Linked DNA regions of Homo sapiens: all the other regions are linked to region 3. The links are contacts of gene promoters, found by promoter capture Hi-C in blood cells and fetal thymus (Javierre and others, 2016). All regions are on one chromosome and are shown on one strand. Each heading gives the region's core, a stretch centred on a gene start or on the middle of the fragment in contact. The rest is flanking DNA. Distances are from core to core; before and after follow the strand shown. Region 1 holds the start of NAT16 (N-acetyltransferase 16 (putative)). Region 2 holds the start of TSC22D4 (TSC22 domain family member 4). Region 3 holds the start of SRRT (serrate, RNA effector molecule). Region 4 holds the start of PLOD3 (procollagen-lysine,2-oxoglutarate 5-dioxygenase 3).

The links. The method cuts DNA at HindIII sites, captures the fragments that hold promoters and counts their contacts. A CHiCAGO score of 5 or more calls a contact.
Region 1: the fragment with the promoter of NAT16 here is called in contact with the fragment with the promoter of SRRT in region 3 in 3 of 17 cell types (M0 macrophages, neutrophils and naive CD4 T cells); the score reaches 6.5 in M0 macrophages.
Region 2: the fragment with the promoter of TSC22D4 here is called in contact with the fragment with the promoter of SRRT in region 3 in 1 of 17 cell types (total B cells); the score reaches 5.5 in total B cells.
Region 4: a contact is called between the fragment with the promoter of PLOD3 here and the fragment with the promoter of SRRT in region 3, in 3 of 17 cell types (M0 macrophages, activated CD4 T cells and total CD4 T cells). The highest score is 7.8, in M0 macrophages.

Annotation. Positions count from the first base shown.
Region 1 is chr7:101,178,924-101,182,744 of GRCh38, forward strand. It overlaps NAT16 (N-acetyltransferase 16 (putative)), which reads right to left and starts at 1,370. Exons shown (of 4, transcript NM_198571.3): 1 at 1,119-1,370. RefSeq lists an enhancer at 1,151-1,873 and silencers at 1,245-1,539, 3,607-3,821. The HindIII fragment of the contact is 7,974 bases long and covers 1-3,821 here.
Region 2 is chr7:100,477,499-100,481,532 of GRCh38, forward strand. TSC22D4 (TSC22 domain family member 4) reads right to left here and starts at 1,716. Exons shown (of 5, transcript NM_030935.5): 1 at 1,296-1,716; 2 at 1-809. The coding sequence starts at 540. It overlaps TSC22D4-C7ORF61 (TSC22D4-C7orf61 readthrough), which reads right to left and starts at 1,716. Exons shown (of 6, transcript NM_001395846.1): 1 at 1,296-1,716; 2 at 1-809. The coding sequence starts at 540. RefSeq lists enhancers at 1,352-1,421, 2,122-2,231 and a silencer at 1,872-2,031. The HindIII fragment of the contact is 34,188 bases long and covers 1-4,034 here.
Region 3 is chr7:100,872,882-100,876,507 of GRCh38, forward strand. SRRT (serrate, RNA effector molecule) reads left to right here and starts at 2,222. Exons shown (of 20, transcript NM_015908.6): 1 at 2,222-2,447; 2 at 2,692-2,831. The coding sequence starts at 2,710. It overlaps TRIP6 (thyroid hormone receptor interactor 6), which reads left to right. Exons shown (of 9, transcript NM_003302.3): 9 at 291-573. The coding sequence ends at 422. RefSeq lists enhancers at 1,107-1,771, 1,772-2,437, 2,014-2,063, 2,274-2,333 and a silencer at 2,474-2,703. The HindIII fragment of the contact is 10,507 bases long and covers 1-3,626 here.
Region 4 is chr7:101,215,759-101,219,484 of GRCh38, forward strand. PLOD3 (procollagen-lysine,2-oxoglutarate 5-dioxygenase 3) reads right to left here and starts at 1,823. Exons shown (of 19, transcript NM_001084.5): 1 at 1,408-1,823; 2 at 937-1,028; 3 at 652-788; 4 at 405-568; 5 at 150-262. The coding sequence starts at 1,516. It overlaps ZNHIT1 (zinc finger HIT-type containing 1), which reads left to right and starts at 2,407. Exons shown (of 5, transcript NM_006349.3): 1 at 2,407-2,459. The coding sequence starts at 2,438. RefSeq lists enhancers at 929-1,451, 2,000-2,119, 2,213-2,754 and silencers at 1,250-1,369, 1,430-1,479, 1,620-1,899. The HindIII fragment of the contact is 13,473 bases long and covers 1-2,285 here.

The sequences.
Region 1 (3,821 bases), core at 120-2,619, 310 kb after region 3:
TCTCTCTTCATGTCTATCCCCACATCCTTGGGGACATTCTTTAAATCTCATAAATATGAATGATCTCTTTGGGGAGGGGGTGATCAGAGTCATAGCTGGGCATGATCGGAGTCAGAGCTGGGAATGCCGGCAGCCCACCCACCCGCACCCCACTCCCACCACACCCCACACACCTGAAATATCGATGCCCTTGAGGCCGATGGCTTCTTGACACTGGGGGAGGGAGGAGAGGGAGGGAAGGGAGAGCCCAGTCGCCGGAGAGGCGGAGACAAAGAAGGCAGCTGCACAAAGCGCCCAAAGATGAGAGCGAAAAGGACGGGAATGGAGGCAGAGAGCAGACAAAAGCGGACAGGAGATGCGGCCGCAGGGGACAGGCAGGGAAGCCGGAGGAGGCTTCGACACCGAATCACAGACATGACACCTCGTGACTCTGGGCCCAGCAGATGAAAAAAAAAAAATCCTAGCACGCACCCCCTCCCCTGGGACACTGTAAATAGAAAGCAGCGTGACACACCCCCTTCGCCCCGGGGTATGGGGGGCGGGGATCCGTGGAGGGGAAGGGGTCAAGGGGAAAAGAAAGTCAGAAAAAAGGCCGTAAGAGAACAACCTTGGAAACAGAGACGGGGAGAGGCGATGAAGTGGGGGCGGGAGAGAAGGCCTAGGGGGTGGGCAGAGGCAGGGGCCGAGGAAGATGGCCCAGCCAAAGGGGGTGGGGGGAGGGCCCCAGAGGGCCACAGTAGTGGAGAAGGGGGGGCTGTCCTGCAGGGTCTTCCCGAGTGAGGGTCTTCCCTCTGCCTCTACCCCGGATTGGGGGCTTGGGCTTGGGGGAGAGGGAGATTGCAAAGGGAGCGATCTGCTTGGCGGGGGTTCCCCTGGGCGCCGGACCCTGGGGACAGGTGGGAGCGACATGGCAACAGAGGGGGGCGGGGGAGCGCTTCTGGACACCTGAAGCGCAGCCTCTGACTCAGTTTTCTGGGTCTTCGGACTGGGAGGGGCTGGGCAGAAGGGGGCGCAGCCGCTTGGTCCCCCTGAGGGGCGGTGGCCTTCTGCTGCCCCATTCTGCGGTGGAGGAGCACGCTAGCCCCCTCCCCAGTCCCCAGGCCCGGCCGCCCCCCTACCTCGCCGGAGCCGGAGCTGGAGCCAGGGCCGAGATGCCGCAAAGCCAAGCGGGGCGGGCGGCGGGCGCAGACACCCCCGGTGCCAAGAGAGAGGTCCCTTTGGAGCCCCCAAGAGTCAAAGGAGGATGACGCGCGGGGACTCGGCCGCGCTGTCGGAGCCCGACTCTAACGTCGGTCAGCGCTGGGGCAGCGCCGCAGCTCCGTTGGCGACGCGGGCCGGGGCGCCCATCGGTTCAGGGGTTCGGGTGGCACGCGTGGCTCCCCCGGCGACGCTCCGGCGGCAGCTTCGAGGGGCGGAGACCCCGGCGACGCGGAAGAAACCCGGGACGGATCCGGAGCGGACTCGTGCCCTGCTGGCGGGGCCGGGGGTCGGGGTGCGCCCTGGGCAGCTGGGTGGCCTCAAGCCCTACTGGCGAGACTCCGCCCTGTGTCCCGGCTGGGGAGTGGGACTGAGGATGGTGGTGTCTCGGGTTTTGGTGGTGGTGATGCTGGTGTTGCTGGCTTAGTTATCTCCCCACCCCACGCCCAGCACCTCCGTTCTCTGTCCGGGGGTCCCCCACTGCCCTGAAGTACCCCTCCTCCAGGAGCCACCCCTCAATGGAATCTCCTCTCTCCATTATAAGAGCGGCTGGGAAGGGGACTCCGAGCCTTCGTCCCCGGAAACTGATAGAGGGAATCAGAAACCCTAGAACACCGGGAAGGCGAAGAGACATCAAGAGACAGAAGTTGAAAGGCTGAAAAGGGCAGAGGGAGGCCAAGATCTCTCCATCTTCTCACCACTGCGTGGGTGCCTGAGCACCCTGGTTCCCCGGGTGCACAAGGCCCCTAAATCCACAATGTACCCCACGGGACAGCAGGCAGAAAGACCTCCAGGTACACAGCGCACACCCAGGCACATTCACACAGACCTCTGCACTCAGGAGGCGCTGCACCCCACGCTGATCCTGGTGGCTGGGGAGGAAGAGGGAAGTGTGGAGCTGGGACCCGGGTGGGTGCAGCGCTGCCCCTGCTCTAATAAGGCGGTGGCCCAGGCTCTTAACTCCTACAAGGTTCTCCATCCCACCTATAAAGTGAGCTCAAGACTGGGTGCGGTGGCTCAAGCCTGTGATCCCAGCACTTTGGGAGGCCGAGGCGGGGGAATCACTTGAGGTCAGGAGTTCGAGACCAGCCTGGCCAACATGGTGAAACCCCGTCTCTACTAAAAATACAACAATTAGCCTGGCCTGGCCGGGCACGGTGGCTCATGCCTGTAATCCCAGCACTCTGGGAGGCCGAGGTGGGAGGATCACCTGAGGTCAGGAGTTCAAGACCAGCATGGCCAACATGGCGAAACCCCGTTTCTACTAAAAATACAAAAATCAGCCGGGCACAGTGGCCTGCACCTGTAATCTCAGCTACTTGGGAGGCTGAGGCAGGAGAATCGCTTGAACCCGGGAGGCAGAGATTGCAATGCGCCGAGATCGTGCCACTGCACTCCAGCCTGCGCGGCAGAGCGAGAATCCAACTCAAAATAAAATAAAATAATAAATAAAGTGAGATCAGAACACCTTCAGTTCTACCCTGTAAGGAGCCAGGAAAGTGATGGACAAAGCCCTTTAGCAACTGTAAACTGCTTTGGAGATGCAGGGAATAATTTTTTTTTTTTTTTTTTGAGAGGAGTCTCACTCTCGCCTAGGCTGGAGTGCAGTGGCGCGATCTCGGCTCACTGCAAGCTCTGCCTCCCGGGTTCATGCCATTCTCCTGCCTCAGCCTCCCCAGTAACTGGGACTACAGACGCCCGCCACCACCCCCGGCTAATTTTTTGTATTTTTAGTAGAGACGGGGTTTCACCGTGTTAGCCAGGATGGTCTCGATCTCCTGACCTCGTGATCCGCCCGCCTCGGCCTCCCAAAGTGCTGGGATTACAGGCGTGGGCCACCGTGCCCGGCCGATGCAGGGAATAATGTTAAGGCCTTTCAAGGTCTGCTGGAGTCCTCTCTCCAGGGGCCGCCCAGCTCTCATGCTCCCCCTACCCTCTCCCCCACCCCAAAATTCATTGTTCACCCATCTTATTCCATTTTTTCTTTCTTTACTTTCCGAGGTGATAACTTCATAATCAGGCAAACTGATCCCATTGGATGTGCCAATGCAATAAGAAGGAAGGTCATGTTCCTGGAATCCCACATACAGGAATTCCAACCGAGGGTTAAAGGGCTAAACAGGAATAACACCAAGGGTTAAAGGGATGAGAATCCCGACTTCTAGGCTGAGGCAGGGCAAAATGCAACTGACAAGTTACTCAACATTTTTTAATAGGACTTCCCCCCATTTCTGATCTCTGAAAGTGCTAACACACTGTGCGTCTCACCAAACTGCAGATTGCAGTTAAGGTGCCATATGCTTCATGATGGGAAAGAACTTCAAAAAGTTACAGGTTTCAAGGAAAAAATCACTAGTGGCCAAAGGGAGAGACCATCATATGCTAATCCCGCCCCTTTCGCCAGAAGCCACACCTTCCACCAACAGAAACTCTTGGATTGGCCCAACCCTCACACACTTCCAGTTCCATCAGCCATTCAGAATTAAAAGTTTACCAACGTTTCGGCCCCTCCCCTTAAGTCCAAGCCACTCAGAAGCAAGTTGTCACTGTAAGTCCCGCCTCCAAACAGCTCACTGGGCCAATGGAAAGCCATCTTGTTCCAGGCTTCATTCTCACACATCTAG
Region 2 (4,034 bases), core at 466-2,965, 400 kb before region 3:
CTTGGCTTTGCTGGGCACCACCAGCTGGCCCAGTCCCCCAGTGAAGGAGCGGGCCTGAGGTCCAGGAGAGGTGGGGGGTGGACGGAGCCAGGAGGTGGGGCCCTGAGACAGGCCTGACGGTGGGGTGGGGGCGCCCAGGCCGAGGCTGGCCAGCTCCAACCTGGAATCCAAAGATCTGCCCCCGGCGCCCCCTGAGGCCCCTCGAATTCCCTCCAGGAGTCCGCCGAAGCTGTGGGGCTCCAGGTCTCGCTCATAAACATCCACACACGTCCAGCGACCGCGGCGATAAGGCTCTCCCAGGCCGTGGGGCAGCTTCACCACCCGGAAACGGGAGGAAGGGGCCCCAGGTGGTGGGGAGCCATTCCGGGGGGTGCCCTTGCCCCCCGGATCGGGGCTGGGCTCCCCATTGGGCAGGCGGGGCGGGGGCCCGGTTGGGGGCTGTGGGGTAGGGGGATCCGAAGCCCCTGGGCTCCCAGGGCCCTCATAGTCCGTGGTGACGCTGGTGATTTGGAAACTACTCTTCTTCTTGCCCCCGCTCATGGTCCCTGGGGCTCAGGGCTGGGCCAAGGTTGGGGGTGGGTTGGGGCTCCTTGAAGGGGCTCAGGCACCCCTGGAACAAGGGGGCCACATGGCGGGGACATCCGAGCCCCTGGGGACGTCTGGGTCCGACATGGCAGGAGGGCCTGGCGGGAACCGGGGGTGCCTGCTGGGTGAGGGGAGAAGAGGAGAGGGGAGGTGGCGGGAGGGGGGAGCAGGGGCAGGTTTTTCCTGCTGCTGTTGCTGCTGAACTCCAGAGCTGAGTTTGCAAACTGGAAAAAGAGGGGGAGAGAGAGAGAGAGAGAGAGAGAGAGAGTGTGTGTGTGTGTGTGTGTGTGTGTGTGTGTGTGTGTGTGTGTGTGTGTGAAACCAGTGGGCAGGCCACCTCCGGGGCTTCCTCTCCGGGGAGCAGAGTGGGGGAAGGGGAAACCGTCAGAGACCCAGAGACAGGCAAGAGATGACAGAGACCAGGGCAGAGGGGACTGGATCCAAGAAGGCACTCAGAGTAGAAAGAGGCAGATGAGTCCCAGAGTTGGGCATTTCTCGCCTGGGATTCTGACTCAGGGGGCCCGTATTGTCCCAAGAGCTCGGACTCCAGGGCCTGGGAGAACCAGGCTGAAGCAGCTCCCCAGCCTGGCCCGGCCACTCAGAGAGACCTCTCCTGGGCCTCGAGCCCCCACCCTCACCCCAGCTCCCACATCTCTGGGGCAGGCCCTGCCCGGCTACCCCCCAGCGCCCCACCCAGCCCTGAACCCTACCTCTGGGGCCTCGGCCACTGATCTGAGCCTGAGGGTCCCGGCGCCTAAGAGGTCGGGCTGTCCGTTCCCTGGGGCCTCCTGGCCATGGGCAGTGGCGGGGCACGCAGGCGGCGATCAGAGGCTGTCCCGTCCTCTCCGGGGGCCGCGGCTCATCCTGCCAGGCATCTCCGAGGAAAGTTTGCTCTCCGGAAAAGAAGAAACCCGCGCCTCCTCCGAGGAGCCTAGGAGCGGCCTCTGAAGCCCCAAGGGTCTGGAGACTGATGTGGGAGGGGGCGGCCGAGCCCCCCTCTGCTCCCGGTGGCAGCCAGCGAGTGGGTGTCCCGAGTCTCCTCCCGCGTGACCCTGCTGGGTCCGTGTCTCCGCTCCTCGGCTCCCCTGGGTCTCTGCCTCTCCGTCTTTCTCTTTCTGGGCTGTTGACAACCCCCACACCAGGAAGTCCTGCCTCCTCGGGCCTGCTGACTGCTCCTCTCCTCCTCCTCCTCCTCCTTCCCCTCTTCCTCCCCTTCCTCCTCCCTCCCTCCCTCCTGGGGCTTCCCGCCAGCTGGCCCGGGGCCAGGCCTGCCACAGCCGCTGCTGTTGCAGTTGCTGCAGCCACTGCTTAGGCTGCTGCTCCTGGGGGCCCCAAACAGACTCCCTTAACCCCACACCTGCCGGGCCCTAGCCCCACTCTTGCAGGGAGGGGCTGCAGGGGGCGGGGCTCGGGGAGAAAGGGGAGGAGCTTGCAGGGAGGCGAGGGATTCCCTTACTTGTAGTCAATTGCTGCCATTGGCCTAGAGACACACAGAAGAGACGGAAGGCACAGGCCGGGAGGTGTGCTGCATGCCCACCCAGAAGTTCCCAGTCCCTGCTGTGGGGCAGCTGTGGCTGTTACTGTCATTCTCCTTTGGTTTTCACAGCAACTGCATTATTCCCCCCATTCCTTATTTTTAAAAGTGGATTATTGCCGGATCCCGGTGGTGGCTCATGCCTGTAATCTCCGCACTTTGGGAGGTCGAGGAAGGAGGATCGCTTGAGACCAGTTTGGACAATATAATAGCAAGACCCCATCTCTACAAAAAATAAAAAAAAATAGCTGGGCATGGTGATGTGCACCTATAATTCCAGCTACTCAAAGGTGGGAGGATCGCTTGAGCCCAGGAGTTCGTGACCAGCCTGGGCAATATAACGAGATCCCCATCTCTACAAAAAATTTAAAAAATTAGCACTTTGGGAGGCCGAGGCGGGCGGATCACGAGGTCAAGAGATTAAGACCATCCTGGCCAACATGGTGAAACCAAGTCTCTACTTAAAATACAAAAATTAGCCAGGTGTGGTGGCGGGCACCTGTAGTCCCAGCTACTCGGGAGGCTGAGGCAGGAGAATCACTTCAACCTGGGAGGCGGAGGTTGCAGTGAGTCGAGATCACGCCACTGCACTCCAGCCTGGTGACAGAGTGAGACTCCATCTTAAAAAAAAAAAAAAACTGAGTGTGGTGATGTATACCTGTAGTCCCAGCTACTCAGGAGGCTGTGAGGCAGGAGGATCTCTTGAGCCCAGGAGGTTGAGGATGCAGTGAGCCAAGATTGTGCCACTGCACTCCAGCCTGGGCAACAGAGTGAGACCATGTCTCAAAAAAAAAAAAAAAGTGGATTATTATGAAAATTTTCAAACATGCCATGCAGACATGGGGAGACCATGCAAACTCCACACAGATGGTGGTCCCAGCCCAAAATCAATTTTTAGAAAATCATCAATGTTATAATGAAATGACATTCAATGAAATGACATTGTGTGGGGGCCAGCTGTAGTTTGCTGGACTATTTGAAATCAGATCCTAGATGTTATACTATTCCCCTTTCCCCCAACCTGCCCCCGCCTTTTTTTTTAGAGACAGGGTCTCTCTCTCTCTCTGTTGCCCAGGATGGAGTGCAGTGGTGCGATCATAGCTCACCACAGCCTGGAACTCCTGGGCTCAAGCCATGCTCCTGCCTCAGCCTCCCAAGTAGCTGGGACCACAGACACACACTACTACGCCTGGCTAAATTTCTTTAAAAAAAAATTTTTTTTTTTGGTAGAGATGGGGATCTTGCAATGTTGCCCAGGGTGGTCTTGAACTCCCGGCCTCAAGTGATCCTCCTGCTTCTGCCTCCCTAGTAGCTGGGACCACAGGTGTATACCACCATACCTGGCTAATTTTTTAGTTTTTGTAGAGACAGGTTATTACTATGTTGCCCAGGCTGGTCTCGAATTCCTGGCCTCAAATGATACTTCCACCTGGGCCTCCCAAAGAGCTGACATTACAGGCGTGAGCCATGGTGCCTGGCCTCAGGGAAATTTCTAACCCCTCTTTTTTTGAGACGGAGTCTCGCTCTGTCGCCCAGGCTGGAGTGCAGTGGCTCTATCTCGGCTCACTGCAAGCTCCACCTCCCGGGTTCACGCCATTCTCCTGCCTCAGCCTGTAGCTGGGACTACAGGCACCCGCCACCATGCCCGGCTAATTTTTTGTATTTTTACTAGAGACGGGGTTTCCCCGTGTTAGCCAGGATGGTCTTGATCTCCTGACCTCGTGATCCGCCCGCCTCGGCCTCCCAAAGTGCTGGGATTACAGGCATAAGCCACCACGCCCGGCCTCTAACCCCTCTTTAGGGGTACGTAAAAATAAAACAATGCAATACCTACCCTCTTTATGTATTTATTCTTTATCTCTTTGTTAGAAGCATCCACACTTCTGTTTCTCTCCCTTAAGCCATAGTAACAACG
Region 3 (3,626 bases), core at 972-3,471:
GCTCTGTTGCCCAGGCTGGAGTGCAGTGGCACAATCTTGGCTCACTGCAACCTCCACCTCCCGGGTTCAAGTGATTCTCCTGCCTCAGCCTCCTGAGTAGCTGGGATTACAGGTGCTGGCCACCATGCCTGGCTAATTTTTGTATTTTTAGTAGAGACAGGGTTTCACCATATTGGCCAGGCTGGTCTTGAACTCCTGACCTTGTGATCCTCCTGCCTCGGCTTCTCAAAGTGCTGGGATTACAGGCGTGAGCCATCGCGCCCGGCCAATTGTTGCTTCTTTTTCAACAGGAGTGTGGGCTGCTGCTCTCCTCTGAGGGCGAGTGTCAGGGCTGCTACCCGCTGGATGGGCACATCTTGTGCAAGGCCTGCAGCGCCTGGCGCATCCAGGAGCTCTCAGCCACCGTCACCACTGACTGCTGAGTCTTCCTAGAAGTACCTGCTGGGTTCTCAGTTCCAGTTCCCATCCTTTGATTGATCACTCTCCCTGACATCCACCTGTATGACTTTGTCACCAAATGCTGTCTTCTCTTTCTCCAATCAAGAAATAATAATCCCTCGAGTTTACAAAACACTTCCAAGTCTGTTGTCTCATCTGATTCTCCCAGTAGCCCATTACAGGCCCAGTCATTGTTACTGCCTGCATTTTTTTTCTTTTTTTTTTGAGACGGAGTCTGGCTCTGTCACCCAGGCTGGAATGCAGTGGTGCCATCTCGGCTCACTGCAACCTCTGCCTCCCAGGTTCAAGTGATTCTCTTGCCTCAGCCTCTTGAGTAGCTGGGATTACAGGCGCCCGCCACCACGTCTGGCTAATTTTGTATTTTTAGTAGAGACGGGGTTTCACCACCTTGGTCAGGGTGGTCTTGAACTCCTGACCTCAAGTGATCTGCCCGCTTCACCCAACCAAAGTGCTGGGATTACAGGCGTGAGCCACCGCCCTTGGCCACTGTCTGCATTTTTACATGTGAGGATGTCAGAGCTGAGAGGTGACTCCCCCAGATTGCATGGTTCTTAAATGGTGGAACCTGGGTCTTTTTGACTCAGGTCCAGTTTTTTTTGACAACTCTTGTAATCCGTCACTACCCTCCTCTCAGTGCTGGGAGCAAGCACGCCTCAGGGAGGAGGCAAGATTTCCTCTATGTATCTATTTTGAGACAGGGCCTCACTCTGTTCCCCAGGCTAGAGTGCAGTGGTGCAATCAAGGCTCACTGCAGCCCTGAACTCCTGGGCTCAAACAGTCCTCCTGGCTTAGCCTCCCCAGTAGCTAGGACCACAGGGGCATCCCACCAAGCCCAGTTATTATTTTTTTGTGTGTAGATGGGATCTTGCTATGTTGCCCAGGCTAGTCCTGAACTCTTGGGCTTAAGTCCTCCCTCCTCGACCTTCCCAAGTGCTGGGATCACAGGTGTGAGCCAATGTGCCTGGCCCTAAATATTCTGTAAAGGGGCCTTGCTATGTTGCCCAGGCAGGTCTCCAACTCCTGGGCTCAAGTGATTCTCCCACGTCGGCCTCCCAAAGCGCTGGGATTGCAGGCGTGAGCCATCTCAGCTGGTCTTCCTATTAAGTCTCACACTCAATTCACTGAGAGGGGCCTTGGTGTTACTCCCGGGGGTGGTAATCCATTGAATCTGGGCGGTCCATACTCTGTTTAGGGCGTTAACTTACAGCCTATTTCATCCAAATACTGAGCGGGGTTAAGACTGAGATCTGCCAATTTTACTTAAAGACGGGGCGTCTTTGTCGAGGAAAAGCAGGAACGGCGGACTTTGCATTTAGTGCGCACTGTGGCACCCAATTTTGGCTGGATATTTGGAGCAGAAAATGGTGGGATACGATGCTTTAAAATGGTTGCTTCCACCTTCCATCCCCTAAGCGCCCGCGCTTCCCAAGCCCACGCCCTGCCCGAGGAGGGGACGAAATCACCCCCGGTGAGGTCAGGAGGCCCGTGGGGGGAACATGGCTGGATGAGAACCGTCTTAGGACCCCGACACATCTGGGGTCGCGCGATCCTCGACTTCCGCTCTCCCTTCGCGCCCAGAGGGCTTGTTCGCCTCCCGAGGCCGCGCTTGGCCCAGCCGAGGTCCCGTAGTTCCTAACGCTCGAGCCGTTATCGTCTCGAAAAGCCGCGCGAGACTTGCGAGATCCCCGCCCCTTTCCCATCACGCCCTGCTCTCCCCGCCCTTCGCGCTCGGTTTGTTAGTTCCAGTTCCGGCCGCGAGGGTGGAGCTTTGTGCCTCGGAGGCGTGGGTGACGCAGGCGCAGCGCGGGCTGCGCGCGCTACTGCCCATCCCCGGTTGTCCCACTTTTGTTCGCCTCTCTTCGGCCCTCTACTCAAGAGCTCCGTCTCCGTCTCGCCCTCCTCGAAGTCCTCGTCGCGCGCCCGCGACCCAGGTCGCCCTGAAATCTAGCCCGTCCGAGCGCGAGTCCAACGGCCGCGGCCGCACCAAGGTGGGGGAGGGGAGGAGCCTGGGGGGCCCCGCTGGGGCGGGAGAGGAACCGGGGTCCACGGGGGCGGGCGCGGAGAAACTCGGGGCGAGTGGAGGTGTTGGAGCCGCGTTCTCAGGCCTAGGATGGTGGGGGCCGCGGAGGGCTGGCCTTGGCGGGAGGGAAGCGGGCGAGCTGCCCGCGAGGGACGGTCCCTTCCTCCGCTCGTCCTTTTGCACCACTCCTACCGCCTCTCCCCGGTCCCCAGGCCCCCTCAGACCGTGCCATGGGTGACAGTGATGACGAGTACGATCGAAGGCGCAGGGACAAGTTCAGAAGAGAGCGCAGCGACTACGACCGTTCCCGCGAGAGAGATGAAAGACGTCGAGGGGACGATTGGAATGACAGGTGAGCCGTTTTTAACTTCATCTTGTCCCCGTTTCATGCCGTTTCACTCCACCCGCGTCGCTTTTCTTTCTCCCCCTTGTAATTTTTATGAGGGCGAATCCTATGAAATGGCTCATTGGACCGTTTTCTGTGGTTCAGCCTATTTGCTGTTGGCCAAATAACTAGCTGTGGCTTGGTTTTTGAAATTCTCTGCAGATCAGAGCTATAGAGCTAAGAGTTTGAGTATGAAGAAGCACTGTTTATACATGCACGAAAAGCGTGCTTTTTTGCTTTTTTTTGTTTTGTTATTGAGATGGGGTCTTGTTCTGCTGCCCTGGCTGGAGTGCATTGATGCAGTCGTAGCAGCCTCCACCTCCCGGGCTCAACCGAGCCTCCCGCCTCAGCCTCTTGAGAAGCTGGGACTCCAGGGGGAGGCCATCACGCCCGCCTAACTTTTAAAAATTATTATTGTTATTTCGAGACAGAGTCTTGCCCTGTCGCCCAGGCTGGAGTGCAATGGCGCAATCTTGGCTCACTGCAACCTTCGCCTCTGGGGTTCAAGTAATTCTCCTGCCTCAGCCTCCCGAGTAGCTGGGATTACAGGCACCTGCCACCACGCCCGTCTAATTTTTGTATTTTTAGTAGAGACGGGGTTTCACCATGTTGGCTAGGCTGGTTTGGAACTCTCGACTTTAGGTAATCCACCCAGCTCGACCTCCCAAAGTGCTGGGATTACAGGCATGAGCCAGTGCTTGGTCTAAAATTATTTTTTGTAGAGACAGCGTCTTGCTCTGTTGCCCAGGTTGTAAATTATAT
Region 4 (3,726 bases), core at 573-3,072, 340 kb after region 3:
CCCAAAAGTCTTGGATGACAGGCGTGAGCCACCACGCCCAGGCACACATTTTTCTCTTTGCAACCCCCTTTGCTCCCCAAATCCCATTCAGCCTGAGGCCTCCACTCCCACAGAGCTGCGGGATGCGCCCACTCCTCTGCCTTCCCTACCCTCAGTCCTGGGTCCAGGTAGAGCCGTGTGTAGAACAGCTGGTCGTCGTCATCATCCTTGTACTTCCACTGGCGCACGATTTGGTGGATGGTGGTGGCAAAACCGATGAATCCTGGCGGGGAGGGGGAGTGTTGACCTCGAGACTCCCAGGGTCCCAGGGCCTGTCCCCCAGGCTGTCTCCAGCCCTCAGGCGCCTTTAACACTCTGTGTCCCACCGCTCTTGGCCCCTCTGCCTTGGGCACTCTGCCACTCACCACCAGAATTGAGGAAGCGCTTCCCCGTGCCCACCTCAGGGTACTGCTCCGCCAGCCCCCACTCGGGCCAGCAGAAGCTCTCTGCAGAGAAGAGCAGGCGGCTGCCACTCTGGACGAACTTCTTCAGCAGCTCTGTGGGGCTGCCGGCCAGAATCACGTCGTAGCTGGGTGAGGAAGGGGAGGATGGGCAGGGGTCCACTGGGAACCTCAGCATCCTTACCCCGCTCCCTATCCCCAGCCCCGTTACCTATCCACAAACATGATGATCATATCCTCCCGGTCAGCGTATTTCTCCATTTCCTTCTTTAACCACCGGACCTTCTGTCCTCCACCAACTGTTCGAGCCACATCACCCCCTCGCCACTCCTCTCCCAGGCCCAGGGTCTGTGGAGAAGATTGCCCCGTGCCAGGCAAGGGGTGGGGAGTTGTGGGGGGAACTCCTGACCAGGCTTACCGTGGGGACCTGGGCATCCAGACTTCAGCCCACCCCTCCTGCTGGGACCCCCTCCCAGGGGCCTTTCCCTCTCCTCACCCGCACAGTGTAGTTGAAGAACTCCGCAGAGCGCAGGAAACGCAGGTACCCCTCGGTTTCAGCTGTGGCCACAGTGATCACCAGCAGCTTCTCTGTTACCAGAGGGAAATGGCACTTGAGATCCACCGCCCAGCTCCGGGCCTCACGTGCTTTGCTGTCCTCCCTCTCACTCGACTTCCCTCCCTTTCTTCCTTCCCATTCTTAAACTCTTCTCACCCAGGAACACTCTGACCCCAAGGAGGGCAGGGTGGGAGTGGTGCCCAGGAATTCCGAGTCCCTTTGCATAGGGAGGCTGGAAACCCCAGTTCAGGGTAGTGATGGGCGAGGGGCTTGGCGCGACTCAGCCTCAAGAGCACGCTGGGCGGGGGACGGGCCAGACACCTCCTCGAGCCTCCGACCCTCTCCGGGCCAGGCTGGCAGGCACGCCAGCCTCTGCCCCCTCGGCCGTGCCGGGCCTCCCCGGGATCTCACCTGGGTTGACCGGGTCTCGGCCCCGGGGCCGGTCGGAGGCTGAGGCCGCAGGGGGCAGCAGCAGCGGCAGCAGCAGCAGGAACCGGGGTCCAGGCCCCGAGGAGGTCATGGTGGGGAGCGGGCCCAGACAGCACCCAGGATCCTGGGATCTCCGCTACGCGCCTGGATCCCAGCTCCGGAGGGGAGCTCTGGAAAGGGGGCGCTCGGGCTGCTGTGCGGCCGCCGCGGGGAGCAGCTTGGCTGGGGCTACGCCCTGAAAAAAAGGCGTATCCGGAGGCTACAGAAAGCTCCAGATGCCGGCGCCACAGACAAGGCGAGGATTGTCCCGGGCGCACGGGAGGCGGGGGAGGGGCGGCGGCTCGGGCCGGCGGGCGGGAGACAGGGACTCTGGGCTGAGCCAGCCGCTTGACACATGTGGAAGCTGAAACCTGGACAGGGGAAGTGACCCCTGGCGGAGGGTCGGGCGGGACGCGGGGGCGGGTCCTGGCCGCAGCCCTGCCCAGAGAGTGCGGGCGGAAGACGGGGAGAGCGAGAGGCTGGCGGCGACAGGGAGGGAGGAAGCCTAGGAGTCCGCCGCGGGACGGAGGCCTGGGGGAACTGGGAGTTCAGCTTTCTGCAGAGGGCCACTAGGAACCTCGGATTGCCCACGGAAGCCAGCCACTTTCTTTGACAGTCCAGCCCACCTCCTCTTCTGCCCGGAGAAGCTCCAGGGGCTGCCTTTGTGATCACAGCATCTTCACAAGGACCAAAGGAAAATAAGATTTCTTGTAAGAACACCGTGACCACATCTTTAAAATGACCCATTTCGTGGCTCCCACAAGATTTACACCTCCACACTGAGGCCGGAAGTGGTTTTGCCCCTATAAAACATGGCGAAAAGCTTTCTTGTCTCCAAGGAAACGCCACGTAATGAGTCAAAGCTGTGGCGCACGCGCAGAAGTACAAGCTACCGGAAGTGATGGCGCCCCTACTAAAGCCTTGGGGTTAGTACGCGTGCGCAGCAGTTTCTTCCGACAGTTGTGTTGTGCCAATGGTGGAGAAGAAAACTTCGGGTATGTGAGCCCCCGCGGTTCGCCCCCTTCCCCTTCCCAAGTCAGTCCTAGAATTTTCTTACCTAGTCATTCCTCTTTTTTGGTCTCGCTCTTTCGCCTAGGCTGGAGTGCAGTGGCATAGTCATAGCTCACTGCAGCCTCGATTTCCTGGGATCAAACCATCCTCCCACCTCAGCCTCCGGAGTGGCTGGAACTGCAAGCATGAGGCCCCACGCCTGGTTAATTTTTAATTTGTTATGTGGTGACGGGCTCTCGCTATGTTGCCCAGGTTGGTCTCCAACTCTTGGCCTCAAAGCGATCCTCCTGCGTGGGCCTTCCAAAGTGCTGGGATTACAGGCGTGAGCTGCCGCGCCCGGCCCCAGCTATTCCTCGTAAATCCCTTCCTCAGCCCTCGGGTCCTGGCGTTGACCCTTCATTCACGTTTTATTGGTGCCTGCTCCAAGCCGGGCGCTGGGGATGAAGAGGAGAAAGACCCCTCTTATCCAAGCATTGGCTTTTTCTGGAAGGGGGGCAGAAACGCAGACCTAACACTGTATTTTACTGTGATTTGTGATTTGTGCTATGGCAGAGGGAAGCACAGCGCCTGGGAACAGGGAGACGTGGCATCTAGCCCAGGTTCTGGGAGGCAGGGGACTGTGAAAGCTTGAAGGAAAAATGAAAAAGCTTGAATTGAGTCTTGAAAGTCTAGTTAGGGTTTCTCTCAGTGGGAACCTCACGTGCAAAGGCAGTGAAGCAAGAAAAAGCAAGTCGCTTAGGAAGCCAAGTTCACAGTTTGGATCTTACAGAGTAATAAGAAAGGATCGAAGGCTGGGGAAAGGTTACATTTTGAAAGGCATTATACACACTGCCCAGGAGTTTGAACTCTGTAGGGAAACACTGGAGAGCCAGCAAAGACTTTTTTTTTTTAGACAGAGTCTTGCTCTGTCACCCAGGCTGGAATGCAGTGGTTCTATATAACTCACTGCAGCCTCAACCTCCCATGCTCAAGTGATTCTTCCACCTCAGCCACCTGAGTAGGTGGAACTACAGGTGGGTGCAGGCCACCATGCTGGGCTAGTTTTTATATTTTTTGTTGAGATGGGTGTCTCACTATGTTGCCCAGGCTGGTCTTGAACTCCTGAGCTCATGTGATCCTCCTGCCTCGGCCTTCCAAAATGCTAGGATTACAAGTATGAGCCACTGCGCTTGGCCCTTTTAGTTTTTCTTTCTTTCTTTTTTTTTCTTTTTGAGACGGAGTCTTGCTCTGTCCCCCAGGCTGGAGTGCAGT